5 separate regions of the Homo sapiens genome follow, and regions 2, 3, 4 and 5 are each linked to region 1. The links are contacts of gene promoters, found by promoter capture Hi-C in human tissues and cell types (Jung and others, 2019). All regions are on one chromosome and are shown on one strand. The core of a region is centred on a gene start or on the middle of the fragment in contact, and the rest is flanking DNA. Distances in the headings are between cores, read along the strand shown.

What was found. The method cuts DNA at HindIII sites, captures the fragments that hold promoters and counts their contacts. A contact is called where the count stands out against the background at its distance.
Region 2: a contact is called between a fragment that was not itself captured here and the fragment with the promoter of TSC22D2 in region 1, in 1 of the 25 tissues and cell types used here (hippocampus).
Region 3: a fragment that was not itself captured here is called in contact with the fragment with the promoter of TSC22D2 in region 1 in 1 of the 25 tissues and cell types used here (dorsolateral prefrontal cortex).
Region 4: a contact is called between a fragment that was not itself captured here and the fragment with the promoter of TSC22D2 in region 1, in 1 of the 25 tissues and cell types used here (IMR-90 fibroblasts).
Region 5: a fragment that was not itself captured here is called in contact with the fragment with the promoter of TSC22D2 in region 1 in 1 of the 25 tissues and cell types used here (mesenchymal stem cells).

The regions. Positions count from the first base shown.
Region 1 is chr3:150,406,916-150,409,823 of GRCh38, forward strand. TSC22D2 (TSC22 domain family member 2) reads left to right here and starts at 1,383. Exons shown (of 3, transcript NM_001303264.2): 1 at 1,383-2,908. The coding sequence starts at 2,436. RefSeq lists silencers at 1,474-2,073, 2,744-2,908 and an enhancer at 2,444-2,493. The HindIII fragment of the contact is 4,156 bases long and covers 935-2,908 here.
Region 2 is chr3:149,923,650-149,926,557 of GRCh38, forward strand. All of the region lies in intron 8 of RNF13 (ring finger protein 13), which reads left to right. Among named protein-coding and RNA genes, the nearest start is that of PFN2, 46 kb to the right of the region's middle. The HindIII fragment of the contact is 7,700 bases long and covers 1-2,908 here.
Region 3 is chr3:149,946,938-149,949,845 of GRCh38, forward strand. The region is part of intron 8 of RNF13 (ring finger protein 13); the gene reads left to right. Among named protein-coding and RNA genes, the nearest start is that of PFN2, 23 kb to the right of the region's middle. The HindIII fragment of the contact is 8,745 bases long and covers 1-2,908 here.
Region 4 is chr3:150,068,796-150,071,703 of GRCh38, forward strand. No RefSeq gene overlaps it. Among named protein-coding and RNA genes, the nearest start is that of LINC01998, 12 kb to the right of the region's middle. The HindIII fragment of the contact is 4,741 bases long and covers 1-2,908 here.
Region 5 is chr3:150,094,595-150,097,502 of GRCh38, forward strand. LOC105374313 (a long non-coding RNA gene) reads left to right here and starts at 1,849. Exons shown (of 3, transcript NR_136187.1): 1 at 1,849-2,003. The HindIII fragment of the contact is 4,543 bases long and covers 1-2,908 here.

The DNA.
Region 1 (2,908 bases), core at 133-2,632:
AGGGATTTTATGTCGTCTTATTTCACATTCTGACTCCAGTCACTTGGGTTTGGAGGGCATGGTTTCCACTAAAGTTAAAAGACCTAGCTCTATAAATTACAACTAAAGACCTAAAAAATTCTCTGCAAATTTAATTCTCAAAACATCTTTTGGGATAAAAAGTATTTCTATTCTTCAAAGATTAGAGAACCGAGTTCAACGATTTACTGATTTAAGTTATCATTATGTGATTGCTAACGCTGCAGTAGATATGAAATCACGATTTCCATTAAGACTTAGATTTTACCTAAATGACGACTGCTTTAGTATGTCAAAGTTTAGGAGCCCATCCCCATTTTTTTAAACTGCTTAAAAGAATGGCCTTAGCATGCCAAAGTTTAAGAGCCCATCCCCATTTTTTTTTAACTGCTTAAAAGAATGGCCTTACCATTTTCTTTGGCCAGGAACTAACTACAAGATGATAAATTTGCCAGTACTTTCTTTTCATAGTTGTTCTTTGCATTGGAACAGGAAAGGGTGCTTTATCACTCGTTACGGTTGTTCATGGCCCAATCCAAATCATATAATACGCTGGCTGCTACTAACAGTTTTAGAATAAACAAAAAGAAGAACTATAATGCAGTAGGTTCTACATTTATAAAGCCCATGAGCTGATTTCGTGCCGAAAGTAAAACAGTCTCAAGAGTTTAAATGAATCCTGGAATCACAGCAAATTCAGGAAATTTAGGAATATGTTGGTAACCCTTAAGCTTTTTAAAAACTGACTACACCCTGGGCAAGTAACCACCCCCTGATGCCGTTGTGGGAGACAGAATTTCTGGCAGGAAGATAATTTTCTGACTCAATCTGGCTTGCCGTTCTTGTTTAATCATCCCCATTTCTCTGAACATTTTACTCCTCTGACTACAATGGTCAACATTTATTTTCAGAAGTTTTAAAGTGATTTAGTTCTTCCAGCCGCACCTCTTTTTATCCCATCTAAGTCTTCCCCAGCCCCCATTCCTATCGCCCTCGTTTCACTAAGATTTTGCTAAACATTAGACACAAGCACATGACCTCCAGTCTTCCACTGTCTCGGAACAAACCGACATAAAAACATCTGATTAGTTCCATTGTAAGCTTCCCTAGGCTTAGAATTTAAAATGGTCTTTAGCTCGTCAATGCTTAAAGAACCTACAACACAAAATTTAAATTTTAAAAATTTTAAATAAAGAAACCGCTCCCTTTTTTAACCTTTAGCCCCGCCCATTGCCCCCCACCCCAGGTTCCACGCGAAACTGCAGGAAACCGGAGGGGGCGGAGCGGTGACGTCACGACGCCGGTGCGTCACGGAACGGCGGCGGCTGCGGCGCTGGCGGTGGCTGCGGCAGCGGCGGCATTTTAGTCGGCAGCGGCGGCGGCAGCGGGGCTGCTGCTCCTCCCAGCATCCCTGGCGCGGCCATTTCAGCCCCATCTTGGCCCAGCGGAGGGAGCTGCAGCCGCCGCTTCAGCAGTTTGAATTTCAGTTTCTTCGGGGTTTAGGAATTGGGCGCACCGAGGAGGAGCCGGAGAAGCCACCACCGCTACCTCACACAGCCGGGGCGCCTCCGGTCCCGTGCCAGCGGTCTGCCGCCGCCGCCCCTCTCTGAGAGAAGCCGCGAGGGGAGGCCGAGACCGCCGTCGCCGCCCGCCCGCAGGGGTGGTTCCCCCTGTAAGGGGAGGACCGAGCCGGCTTTCCCCTCCCCCAGAGCGGGTTTCCGCCTGAGGCAGTCGACATGTCCCTGGGGCTGAGCTCCGGCTAGAGCCGGGGAGGGAGGGCCGCCTGCCCGCGCCACAGCCCCACCGCCCGCCCGCGGACCTTCAGCCAGCTCCGGCCCGCGGCTCCCGGCTGAATTAGGCATCTCCGACTCCGGACTCGCCGCTCCTTCCCTCAGTCAGAGAGCCCAGCGCTGACGCCGGCACCGGCCTGAGGAGCCCGAGCGGGGCAGCACCGCCCCTCACGCCGCCGCCACCGCCTCCTCCTCCTCCTCTTCGCCCTCCCACTCCCACCCCCAGCCAAGGCCTGCTGACCGCGCCGAGCGCCGAGCTGGACTGACCACGGCTGCCCGGAGACGAGAGAGGAAGCAGCCGGCCCGCCCCTGGGTTCGCGCTCTCGCCGCCTCTGAGGGAATTGAATTGAGGCGCCGCGGCTGCGAGAGCTAAAAAGGAAGGAGGAGCCGCCGCGGGACTGAGACGGGGGCAGAGCCGAAGAGACCGACACAGAGAAGGAAACGAGGAGGAGGATGTCTCACCGGGCGGCCAGCGCCTGGATCAGCCCGTGACTCTTAACAGCGGCGGGCCTCAGACCCCAGCGCAGACTCGGACTTTGTCTTTGGGGGCCCGTGCTCTGCCCTCCCCGGTTTCCGACAGGACCCAGAGGAGCCGGCGTGCCTCTCTGCCCTCCAGCCTTCTTCACCATGTCCAAGATGCCGGCCAAGAAGAAGAGCTGCTTCCAGATCACCAGTGTCACCACGGCCCAGGTGGCCACTAGCATCACCGAGGACACCGAGAGCTTGGACGACCCGGACGAGTCACGCACAGAGGACGTCTCCTCCGAGATTTTCGACGTCTCTCGGGCCACGGATTATGGCCCTGAGGAGGTCTGCGAGCGCAGCTCTTCCGAAGAGACGCTTAACAATGTTGGGGATGCGGAGACTCCCGGGACCGTCTCCCCAAACCTCCTCCTAGATGGGCAGCTGGCAGCGGCGGCTGCTGCTCCCGCCAACGGAGGAGGAGTCGTTTCGGCCCGGAGCGTGTCTGGGGCGCTCGCCAGTACCCTGGCGGCGGCTGCCACTTCGGCCCCCGCCCCCGGAGCACCCGGCGGCCCCCAGCTCGCGGGCTCATCCGCCGGGCCAGTGACTGCAGCCCCATCTCAGCCTCCCACCACATG
Region 2 (2,908 bases), core at 274-2,773, 480 kb before region 1:
CAGCTACTCAGGAGGCTGAGGCAGGGGAATCACTTGAACCCGGGAGGCAGAGGTTGCAGTGAGCCGAGATCACACGACTGCAATCCAGCCTGGTGGCAGAGCAAGACTCCATCTCAAAAAAAAAAAAAAAAAAAGAAAAGTTTAAAAAATGGTGATACTGTCCTGGGTTTAAAGGGAAAACATGTCATTGGCTTTTCCTCTGAGTAAGATGGGTAGCTGTAGTAGGATTTGGAACAGAGGAGAGAGAGAATGTCTCAGTTAACTGTTAAAAGGATCCTTCTGCTGACATTAAGAATAGGTTATTAGATGGCAAAGGGTATAAACAGAGAGAACAGACAGGAAAGTTATTGTAGTAATTCAGGTGTGATATAAATGTGGCTTGGGGTGATATCAGTGGAGGAGAAGAAATCTTTAAATACTGGCTGTATCTGGAGATGGAATACACAGAATTTACTGATGGACTAGATATTGGAAGAGGAGACAAGGATGACTCCAGATTTTTTGGTCTGAACAACAAAATGGATGGTCTATTTAAGGACAGTCCTTAAATAGCAATAAGGATGGTTAATGTATGAGAGAGCAGGTTTTAGGAGGGAAATTGGAAGATTGGTATTGAACATATGGAATTTCAGATGTCTATTAGATGTTAGAAGTTTAAGAGAGAGGTCTGAACTGGAAATACCAGCATGAAAATGTATTTATATCATTAGACTGGATGAGATTACCAAGAGAGTGCGTACAGAGAGAGAGAATACCAAAGACACCGTGGGGCATTCCATCATTCAGTAGAAGAGGAATCAGAAGTGGCAGCAGTGGAGACTGAGAAGGTGTGACCAATTACATAGGAAGAAAATCAGGAGAGTGTGATTTACCAGAAACCCAGTGATGCAAATCTATCAGGGAGCAAGGAATGATAACCTGTGTCAGTGCTGCTGAACATAAGTAAGATGAGAGCTCAGTATTGACCACTAGAGACTATTGATGATCTTGATGAGCAGTTGACAGAGTGGTCAGGCCAAAAATCTGATTGTAGTTGATTTAAGAGAGAATGGTGGAAAGAGAGGAATTAGAGATAGTTTTTGTAAGAAGTTTAACTAAAAAAGGGAGCAAAGAAATGGGGTCATAGCTGCTGGGGGAAGTTGAGTCAAGAAATAACAGCATGTTTGTTTGCTAAAGGAAATTGATGTAGGTGACAGATGGGAGAGTCCCTGTAATGTTCTTGAGAAGGCAAGAGGAGATTGGATATCTTGCACAAAAAGGTGAACTGGCCTTAGGTAGTATCATAGAGACTTGAGCTAAGGGAAAGTAGAATATGTGGGTGAAAAATCACAGTAGGTGGGTATTTGTAGTGGTGAGTCTGTGGAAATGTTCTTTGCTTTAATTTCTCTCAGGTAGGAAATCACCAACTGAGGGTGAGGACAGAGGAGGAGGTATTGGAGCTTTTAAGAACAGAGGTATAAAATACTATTATTCCAGGAGAGTAGGAGGAGGAATGGACTAGGGAAATATAATATGGTTGCTTGGCAGCCTGAACCCATTTTGAACCCATCAGCATAACTGTTTTTCTCTATGGAGTGGTGTTTATCATCACTTTTTTCAAAATGTGAAGTATAACATTTATACAGAAGAGTATGTAGAATACATATTTCTAGAATCATCCAGTTCAAGAGATAGAACATTACTGCCACCCCAGGAGCTGTTATGTTCCCTTCTAGATAAATAATCCTTTCTTGTCCTCTGGAGGTAATCACTATCCTGGTTTATGATAATTTCACTGCCTTTCTCAAGTTGTACCACATACGAATGCATACCTAAACAGTTGGCTTAATTTTGCCTATTTTTGAATTGTATTTTTCTTACCTCTGATTAATTTTTTAATGAAATTTATACACTTAGTTGCATTTAGGTATAGTTCATTTACTTTCATTCTGTCTTTTAAAGATTTTACTTACCCACTTTACTGTTAATTGACATTCTTTTTTTTTCAGTTTAGGGCTATTATAAATCATACTTTTGAGAATATACTTGTACATATATCCTGGTGCATATGTCCATGAATTTCTTTAGCATATATACCTAGAAGTAGATTAATTTGATCATAGTATATAGCTATTTTCAATTTTATTGGGTAATGCAAAATCATTTCCAAAGTGATTGATGGTACCAATTTCTACTCTCACCAACAGTCTATAGGAGTTCCTGTTGTTCTATGTATTTATCCAATACTTTGTACTGATGGACTTTTAAATTTTAGCATTCTGGTGGGTTTATAACTCGTTGTTTTACTTTTTATTTCCCTTCTTGCAATGAGGTTAAATATCTGTTCACATTATTTGCCAGTTGGATTTTCACTTTCACGAAGTACCTTTCATGATATATGCCCGTGTGTCTGTTTCATATATGGGAGGAATTCTTTATATGTTCCTACAAGCCTCCAGAGGGAGGCGTAGAGTATGGCAATTTAGTTCTTCAATAATTCTTGTGTTTTAACTGTCTTTTTCTAGTTTATGGACCAGAATTCTTGCCTTTCATGGTAGTATTCTTCTATTTTTGTTTTGTTTTGTCTTGATTTGTTTTTTTGAGGCGGAGTCTCGCTCTGTCCCCTAGGCTGGAGTGGAGTGGTGTGATCTCAGCTCACTGCAAGCTCCGCCTCCCGAGTTCACACTATTCTCTTGCCTCATCCTGCCGAGTAGCTGGGACTACAGGCGCCCGCCACCATGCCTGGCTCCTTTTTGTATTTTTAGTAGAGATGGGGTTTCACCATGTTAGCCAGGATGATCTCGATCTCCTGACCTCATGATCTGCCCACCTTGGCCTCCCAAAGTGCTGGGATTACAGGCGTGAGCCACCATGCCCAGCCTCTTCTGTGTTTTTAGAGTACGTTTTCTATCCCAAGATCATACAGATG
Region 3 (2,908 bases), core at 255-2,754, 460 kb before region 1:
TTCCATCAGTTTTGGTATGCTGTGTTTTCATTTTCATTTATCTCCAGATATTTTCTAAATTCCCTTGTGATTTCTTATTTGACCCATTGGTTGTTAAAAACTGCATTAATTCCTATACATTTGTGGATTTGCCTGTTTTTTGTTTTTTTTGCTATTGATTTGTAGTTTCATTGTGCTGAGGTTGGAGAATATATTTGTATGACTTCAATCTTCTTACATTTAAGGCTTTTTTCGTGGTCTAATATGTAGTCTGTCTTGGAGAATATTACATGTGCGTTTGAGAATGTGTATCCCCTGTTGTTGGGTGAAGTGTTCTGTATATGTTTGTTAGTTCCAATTGGTCTAAAGAGTTATTCAAGTCATCTGTGTCTTCTGTTTGATCTTCTGTCTGGTTGTTCTATTCTTACTGAAAGTGGGGTATTGAAGTCGCCTGTTAGTATTGTGTTGCTGCTCATTTCTTCTTTCAGTTCTTTTTTTTTTTTTTAAAGGCGGAGTTTCGCTCTTTTGCCCAAGCTTGAGCGAAGTGGTGCAATCTTGGCTCACTGCAACCTCCTGCCGCTGGGCTTAAGCGATTCTTCTGCCTCAATCTCCTGAATAGCTGGGATTATAGGCGCCTGCCACTACACCCAGGTACTTTTTTGTATTTTTAGTTGAGATGAGGTTTCACTATATTGGCCAGACTGGTCTCCTGACCTCTGGTGATCCGACCGCCTGGGCCTCCCAAAGTGCTGGAATTACAGGCGTGAGCCACCGCACCTGGCCATCTTCCTTCAGTTCTGTCAATGTTGCTTCACGTATTTGACTGCTTTGATGTTAGATGTGTATATATTTATTGTTATATCTTTTTGGTGAATTTACCATTATGTCATTATATAATGCCCCCGTTTTTCTCTTATGATAGTTTTTTTTCTTAAAGTCTATTCTGTTTGATATATGTATGGCCACTCCTGCTCTCCAGTTTCTCATTTGCATAGGATATCTTTTCCACCTTTTCACTTTTAGCCTATGTGTGCTTTTTGTTTGTTTGTTTGAGAAGGAGTCTTGCTCTGTCACCCAGGCAGGAGTGCAGTGGCGCGATCTCGGCTCACTGTAACCTCCACCTCCTGGGTTCAAGCAATTCTCCTGCCTCAGCCTCCCGAGTAGCTGGGATTACAGGCACACGCCACCATGTCCAGCTAATTTTTTGTATTTTTAGTAGAGATGGGGTTTCACCATGCTGGCCAGGCTGGTCTCGAACTCCTAACCTCATGATCTGCCCACCTCGGCCTCCCAAAGTGCTGGCATTACAGGTGTGAGCCACCGTGCCTGGTCCCCACGTGTTTTTAGATATAAAATGATTTTCTTGTAAGCACTTTATTGTTGGATCTCATATTTTTTAGCCATTCAATCAATGTCTTGGTATGTTTGATCTTTTTACATTTAAAATAATTACTGACAGGAAAGGACTATTACTTTTGTTCATTGTTTTTTGTCTGTCTTACCGCTTTGTCTTTCCTCTCACTGTGTTTTTTGTTGATTTTTTCTAGTGACGTTTTGATTCCCTTATTTCCCTTTGTATATATTCTACAGATATCTTCCTTATGGTTACCCTTGCAATTCCATAAAACATCTTAAAAGTTCTAACAATCTGTTTTAAACTGACCTTTTAAATATTTCAAACTGACAAATTAACTTCAATCACATATAAAAACCATGATCCTTGTCTCTCTGCCTCCCATTCTATGTTATTGATGACTCAAATTGCCTGTTTTTACATTGCTTATCATTTAATGTAATTATTACTTTTTATGCTTTTAGAAAAATTCTGGGCCACGTGCCGTGACTCATGGCTGTAATCGCAGCACTTTGGGAGGCCAAGGTGGGCGGATCACTTGAGTTCAGGAGTTTGAGACCAGCCTGGGCAAAATGGTGAAACCTCATCTCTACAAAAAAACACAAAAATTAGCCAGGCATGGTGGCAAGTGCCTGTGGTCCCAACTACTTGGGGGACTGAGGCAAGAGGATGGCTTGAGCCTGGGAGGCGAAGGTTGCCGAGAGTCGAGATCATGCCACTGCACTCCAGCCTGGGTGACAGAGCCAGACCCTGTCTAGAAAAAAAAAAAAATTATATACCAGATTTATAAGTGATTTACTCACCTACATTACAATAATACAGGATTCTATATTTGTCTATATATTTAACTTTACCTGGGACTTATGTTTTTATTAATACATGGTTTTATGTTCCTGTTTATCAGCTTTTCACTTACTTGTAGGTGCTCTTTTAGAATTTCCTATAGAATAAGTCTAGTGGTGATAAACTCCCTCAATTTTTATCTGAGAAAGTCTTAATTTCTGTTTTTGTTTGTTTTGAAAGGGCACTTTTGCTAAACATAGCATTCTTGATTGGCACCGCTTTTCTTTCGAATACATCATCCCACTTCCTAGCCTGCAGGGTTTCTGCTAAGTCTGCTGAGAATCTAATATGAGCTCCTTTGTATGTACTGGGTTGCTTTTTTTTTTTTTTGCTGCTTTCAAGATCTCTGTCACTAGACAGTTTAATTATAATATGATTATATGTCTCAGTGTAGATCCCTTAGATCCCTTTAGATTTATTCTGGTTGGAATTATCTGAGATTCTTGAATTTGTATATCCATTTCTCTCAGATTTGGGAAGTTTCCAACCATTATTTCTTCACATAGGTCCTCTACCCCTTTCTTTCTTCTCCTTCTGAGGTTCCCATAATGCATGTTTTCTTCTATTTGATGCTATCCCAGAAGTCCCTCAGATTCTCTTCATTTTCCTTCATTCTTTTTTTTTTTTTCTTCTCTTCATTTCTTCTCTTTTTCTTCTTTCTTTTTTGGGGATTTATCCTGCTTGGTGTTCTCTTAACTTCCTGGATCTGTGGTGGGGTGTCTGAAACCAATT
Region 4 (2,908 bases), core at 305-2,804, 340 kb before region 1:
CCTTGATACCTAACACAGAGCTTGGCACTTGGTTAAGGCTCCATAAATGTTGAATAAAAATCCTCCTTTCAAATGCAAATTTCACATAGAACGTAAACTTCTTAATCTATTGTCAGCTGGTGCCTCAGGGTGGTTTATGGTAAGAAAGAACAAGTTTCTGCATTATAGGCTTGAAGTTAAAAGGCCCCCAGAGGACATGTACTCACTGGTTTTATTATCTTTTTTTTATTGATCAGTGTGTCATCAGTCAACAAGTATGCAGCAGCTTTCTGTACAAGGAACCGGAATTCCTACCAGAAATTAACACGTGCTAGGGAGTCATTTTCCTTTTGTAACAAAAGTAATGCAAAGTAATTGAAAGCAATGACATTATTTCATCCAAATAGTATAGGATGGATCAAGTAGAAAAATGTGTTGGGAAATTAAATTTACTAGGTAAACACAGCCACAGAGAGCTCACAGCTGTTTACAGCTCAGTTGTATTTATGGGATGACATAGCCTAGCCATCAGGCATACTCGGGATGACTGGGCTGTACATTCTGGCAGTCTGTCCCATCTGTTCCAGCTTCTTCATTTTCACAGCCATCCCAGGCCACCTCCTCTTTCAACCTGCCCTACACTGAGGAAGTGAGGAAGATTGTTCTGGCAGCAATTTTCATCACATCATATTATTCTCCAGCCTTATGTTCAAACTCTTTTGACAAGTAGCTCCCACTTCACTCTTAGTAATCTAACATGTCCCCTTGTAATTGCTTCTCAATCATGCATCTATAGCTCCTCTCATTGCTTAATATTAAAGGGAATACATCTGTCTTCACATTGCTTTGAATTCTCACCATTCCCATACCTAGTAGGCACTGAAGGGGGATTTCTGATTAATAATCCACTTAGATATACCTACCCCATACATGTCACCATGGTAACTCTACACCTTGCTAAAAGTTGATGGCATAGTGTGTAATGACTTGGCTTCTTCCCCATTCAGCCACTAATCCTGTAGATGGATTATTTTGTTCCTACCCCCACAAAGCCTGGAGAGCTCTGTAGCCCATGAAAAAATCAGAAGAGTTGCCAGCCTGCTACCTGATTCCTCTCTGCCTCCAAACACAATGCAAAACAAGCTCCAGTTTCCATGCTGAACATAAATAGAGATTGTTCTTCAACTTCAGAAATGTCCTTAGCCGAAAATGTACAAGCCTAGCAGTTACAGGAATTTTCTCTCTCCATCTTACAGGGCAATGGCTGAGGTCTTGGGAACTCTTTCAGGAAGCCCACTAGGGAGTGAACCTTCATTTGTCCTGATTGCCCTGTGTTACAGAGGGAGGGAATGTCCCCCCAACCAGTAGCTAGAAACCAGGGCCAAACCCATGAAAACTCATGGATTCATTCCATGCCTCCTTCTCTGATATCCTACTGCCAGGCACAGCCACCGTTTTGCACAAATCTGGGTGAATGGTGCCCCTGAGGCTGGAAACTATGGTGGGCCTGGTGCTGAGCTTCATCTTGAGCCTAGTGAAGATGATGCTACGCTTCTTGAGAGGCGCTCGGCCATTTACCCTGTGCTGTGTCCCAGGAAGCCGACTGGTATGGGCTGCATTGAGTCTTTTGCCCTCCAACTTCCTATTGGATAATGGGGACCTGTGACAAGAGGTTGGACAATGAGAAGGAGGAGAGTGACCAGTGAACCTGCCTCCCTGCCAGTTTGCTGTGGGTTTGTTACTAGCAGCTGTTGCCCACCAGACAGTCCTCTCAGAGTTCAGGCAAACACTCTGATGACCCTGGTGTTACTAGCCCCAGAGTATTGCCCTATCCCCTGTTGCCCTCATCTTTCTAAATGATTCCTTTACTAAACTCCTTTGACTCAGTTTGAGTGTGCCATAATCTCTTTTTTGCAGTAACTCTGACCATACAGTGGTAAATAAGATAAAGCCTTGGCCTCCTTGGAGCTTAGGTTAGTGTGGAACAAAGAAAGACAACAAATGTGTTTGCAAATACAATCTATGTAATTTCAGATAGTGACAAAAGCTTTAAAAAAAGAAAGTACACCAGGGTAATGGAATGGCTGGAGAGGGTCTAGGGAGGAGAGCTACTTTTCTTCAAGTAGCCAGGAAAGGCCTTTCTGAAGAGGTGACATCTGACCTGGCACGATGACAGTGAGAATGAGACAGCCACACCAGCATGTAGAGAACAATCTAGAGGGGGGAACACTGATGCAAACAGCCCCCAACAGGAAACAACTGGAACAGAATGGAACCTACTGGACAAGGGGAGAGTGGCAGGAGCTGAGGTCAGGAAGGAAGGGCATAAAAGAGTTTAGATTTGATCATTAGGACACTGAGAACTTATTGTAGGATTTGGGCAGGGAGTTGTGATGGTTACTATCCTAACAGAAATTAGATGAAACAATCAAAGGGTTTAACTGAAGACAATGCAATGAGAGGATTATTTTCTTAAATGTGGGCAGGATTAGGAAACTAATAAAGGGTGGTGAAGCATCCAGGAGCTAGCAACAGAGAGAAGCTCTTATCATGGGGAGAGGGTCCAGGTGCGGATGAGTGACATGGCACGCCTGGACTTCTGAGGACAATGGAGCACACAGCGATCTGAACATTTGACACAAATTACAGAGGCTGGAAAGAAAGAATTTCACATCTTCCAATCAATACCCTTAGTCCAAATATTTGTCAGCAAACTCTAACTGTTTTCATAAACTTTAACGCCTTCAGGGCTCAGTCAGGAACCTGTGAGGAATTCAGGTGAAAACCAATAATGAGCAGGGGGGCGGTGGTGAAAAGGTGAGGCTGGCCTTACTGAAGGGCATTCAGATGGAAGCATTACACAGTCCTGAATTCAGGAGAGCTGTCTGGTTCCTGGAGCCAAACTGCAGCTTCAGAGATGATTTATTCA
Region 5 (2,908 bases), core at 152-2,651, 310 kb before region 1:
TCCCCATCTGTAAAATGGCAGTGACAGAAAAGGCAGAGCTTGCTCAACTCTGGGGACATATTCAGGTAGAATGATGCAATGTGACTAGCATCCCCTGAAGGCTGAGGGTTGAATGAAAGATGAAACATGAAACCTTTCACCTGGTGCCTGGTCTGTACTGGCCTGAACCACCCAGCTGTGTGACAGTCAGCTGCTCAGGAAAGTGCAGGGTGAGTCAGTCGGAAGTTGAGTCCAGGCTCCTTTCTTTCTTACAACTTTGTGACTCCCGCAAGCTCATTCCCCTAGAGGCATCACTTTCATGTATTGTCTGGAGCAGTTCCTGGTATATTATTGGCATGTAATAAATATTTGTTGAAATAATGAATGTGCACTTATGGATCTCAGTTTCTTACTTTACATAATGGGGACAATGATGTACCTCATGGGAATGAATTAGGATTAATTGAGAAAACAGTTTAAAGAGACCTGATACACATATGCAGATAATTGAAATTGGTCCCCTTCCTTACACCAGATACAAAAATTAACTCAGGATGGATTAAAGACTTAAATTTAAAACCCCAAATCAAAAAATCAAAGTGCCATGTTGCTACTGATGAAAGCTGGCTCAGAGGACATGGCTTAAGCATGTGAACACGTGGGTCCTAACACTCCACTCAGTTTAAGACCCTGTACAGATTCTTTGGACATACTGGACCACTTCAGGCCTTCCCTGCAAGGGCCATTTCCATAAGCTTATGTGTGAAGTTGCAGAGTCAGCCTCCCTCTGTAGCTGAGAGGACCAGACAGAGCTGAGTATTTTCAGGCCCTTCTCCCAAATGCAGCATTCAGTTAAGTTGGCTCCCCCAGGGATGAGAGTGTGAAGGGACATAAAGATGCTCCTGGAAGAAAATGCTAAGGGAACCCTCCCCAAATGAAGTGGTTAATCAACCCCTTCGATGGAAAACTAAGGGGACATGGGAAGGATATGTCCCCTCTGCTAACATTTCTTATCTTGGACCTGTGTGCTTTATGCTTTTCTGTAATATTGGAATACTTTATTAAGTGCCAGTGAAAAAGAATTTTATTTCCTTCTTTTTATTTCTTTTGATTGATCTTAGATATGAAAATTTTTATTGGGAAAGACTGTATATATATTTGGCTACTATAGCAGGCATATTAATTACCTATTGTGCCATAATCAATAATCCCATACTGCAGTAACTTAAAACAGCAATAAATATTTATTATTTCACATAGTTTCTGCAAGTCAAGAATTCAGGCCAGGCACGGTTGCTCATGCCTGTAATTCCAGCACTTTGGGAAGCTGAGGCGGGTGGATCACAAGATCAGGAGATCGAGGCCATCCTGGCCAACATGGTGAAACCCCGTCTCTACTAAAAATGCAAAAATTAGCTGGGCATGGTGGTGGGTGTCTGTATTCTGAGCTACTCAGGAGGCTGAGGCAGGATAATCGCCTGAACCCAGGAGGCAGAGGTTGCAGTGAGCCAAGATCACGCCACTGCACTCCAGCCTGGGCGACAGAGTGAGACTCCATCTCAAAAAAAAAAAAAAAAAAATTCAAGAGTGGTTTAGCTGGGTGGTTCTGCTGAAGTCACATAGCAAGTGGTGGAGCTGGAATTTGATCTCAGATCCATTAAATAAAGTTTAACTTCTCAAACAGTTCAAATCAGTAGTTCCCAGCTAATGCCTTTCCAAATCACCTGAAGAATCTAATTCAAATGTAGTCTGTTTCAGCAGGGTTTGGGTCAGGTGAGGTTCTGCATAGCTAACAATACCCCAATTATGCTATGCTGTTGCCAAGGGACCTCACAAGGAGGTAGTACATCCACTGCTAGTGGCTATACAAAGGAGTGAAGCCTTCTAAGTACAGTACCTGGCACAACGAATTGTCAAGCAAATGGCAAATCTTCTCTGCAGAGGGGAACTGAGACCCAGTACTCACAATCCATTCTGGAGTCTCCTCATAATCCTGAAGAGGGAAGCCCAGAGGAAATCATCTGGTGAGCTTATCTCATTCTTCTAAAAAAGCGATGAGGATTGGTTTGAGGAGAGCTGCAGTGGGAGGCTGAGAGTCAAAGCCACACTATTTCTGGAGGCTTCGTCCTTTTTCCTGGGATCAGACTCTACTTTTGTGCCATCATCCACCTTTGGGGAGGTCCATGAAGGTCATCTGCTTTTGGGGGTGCATTTGGGACCAGGCAGGAAGCTGCACTTCCCAACTTACCCAAACACAGCTTCTCAACGGGGGCTTCCAAGTTGGGGGAAGGGCTGTGCATGAAGCAGTCTGTGTGTGGGTGTTGGGGAGCTGAAGGGACATCCCCAGCTGGGCCAGGGAACTCTGGTCTCTCCTTGTTTGTCTCCTACAACTGTGGCAACAACACAAAGCCTCTCAGTATGTGCATATTGCTTTGTAGTATCTCTTAGAGAGACAAGATAATGACTATTTTTTCTTAGTTTATCCATGAAGTTAACATATAATACATTAATTGCATTTAGGAGCATTTATTCAACCAAGTGTAACTAGTAATTTCAAAAAATGCCCAATAATACTGATGTTACAGCACACTTGGAGTGCTTTGCTCCAGAAATACCAAGCATTTCCTCCGTTTGGCACTGGGGAGAATCCTGGCACTTTGCTTCAGAAACAAATCTCTTTAATTCCTGCGGACTCTGCATCAAGCCTGCATTGCTCTTTGTTTTTTCCAAGGCTAGGACCTGGGCTGTTTCCCTTCTTTCATCTTCAGATCACTTTAGCCACCCACCAATGTGATTTCTGAAAGCACTGTGTGAAAATTTGAGAATCATGTTGTGTAAACCAGTCTCTGTTTCATGGTAAACCTCTCTTCCCTCCACCCTCACAAAGCCCAGAGCCAGGGACAAAAAGGAATGGGAAAGTGGATTTGCC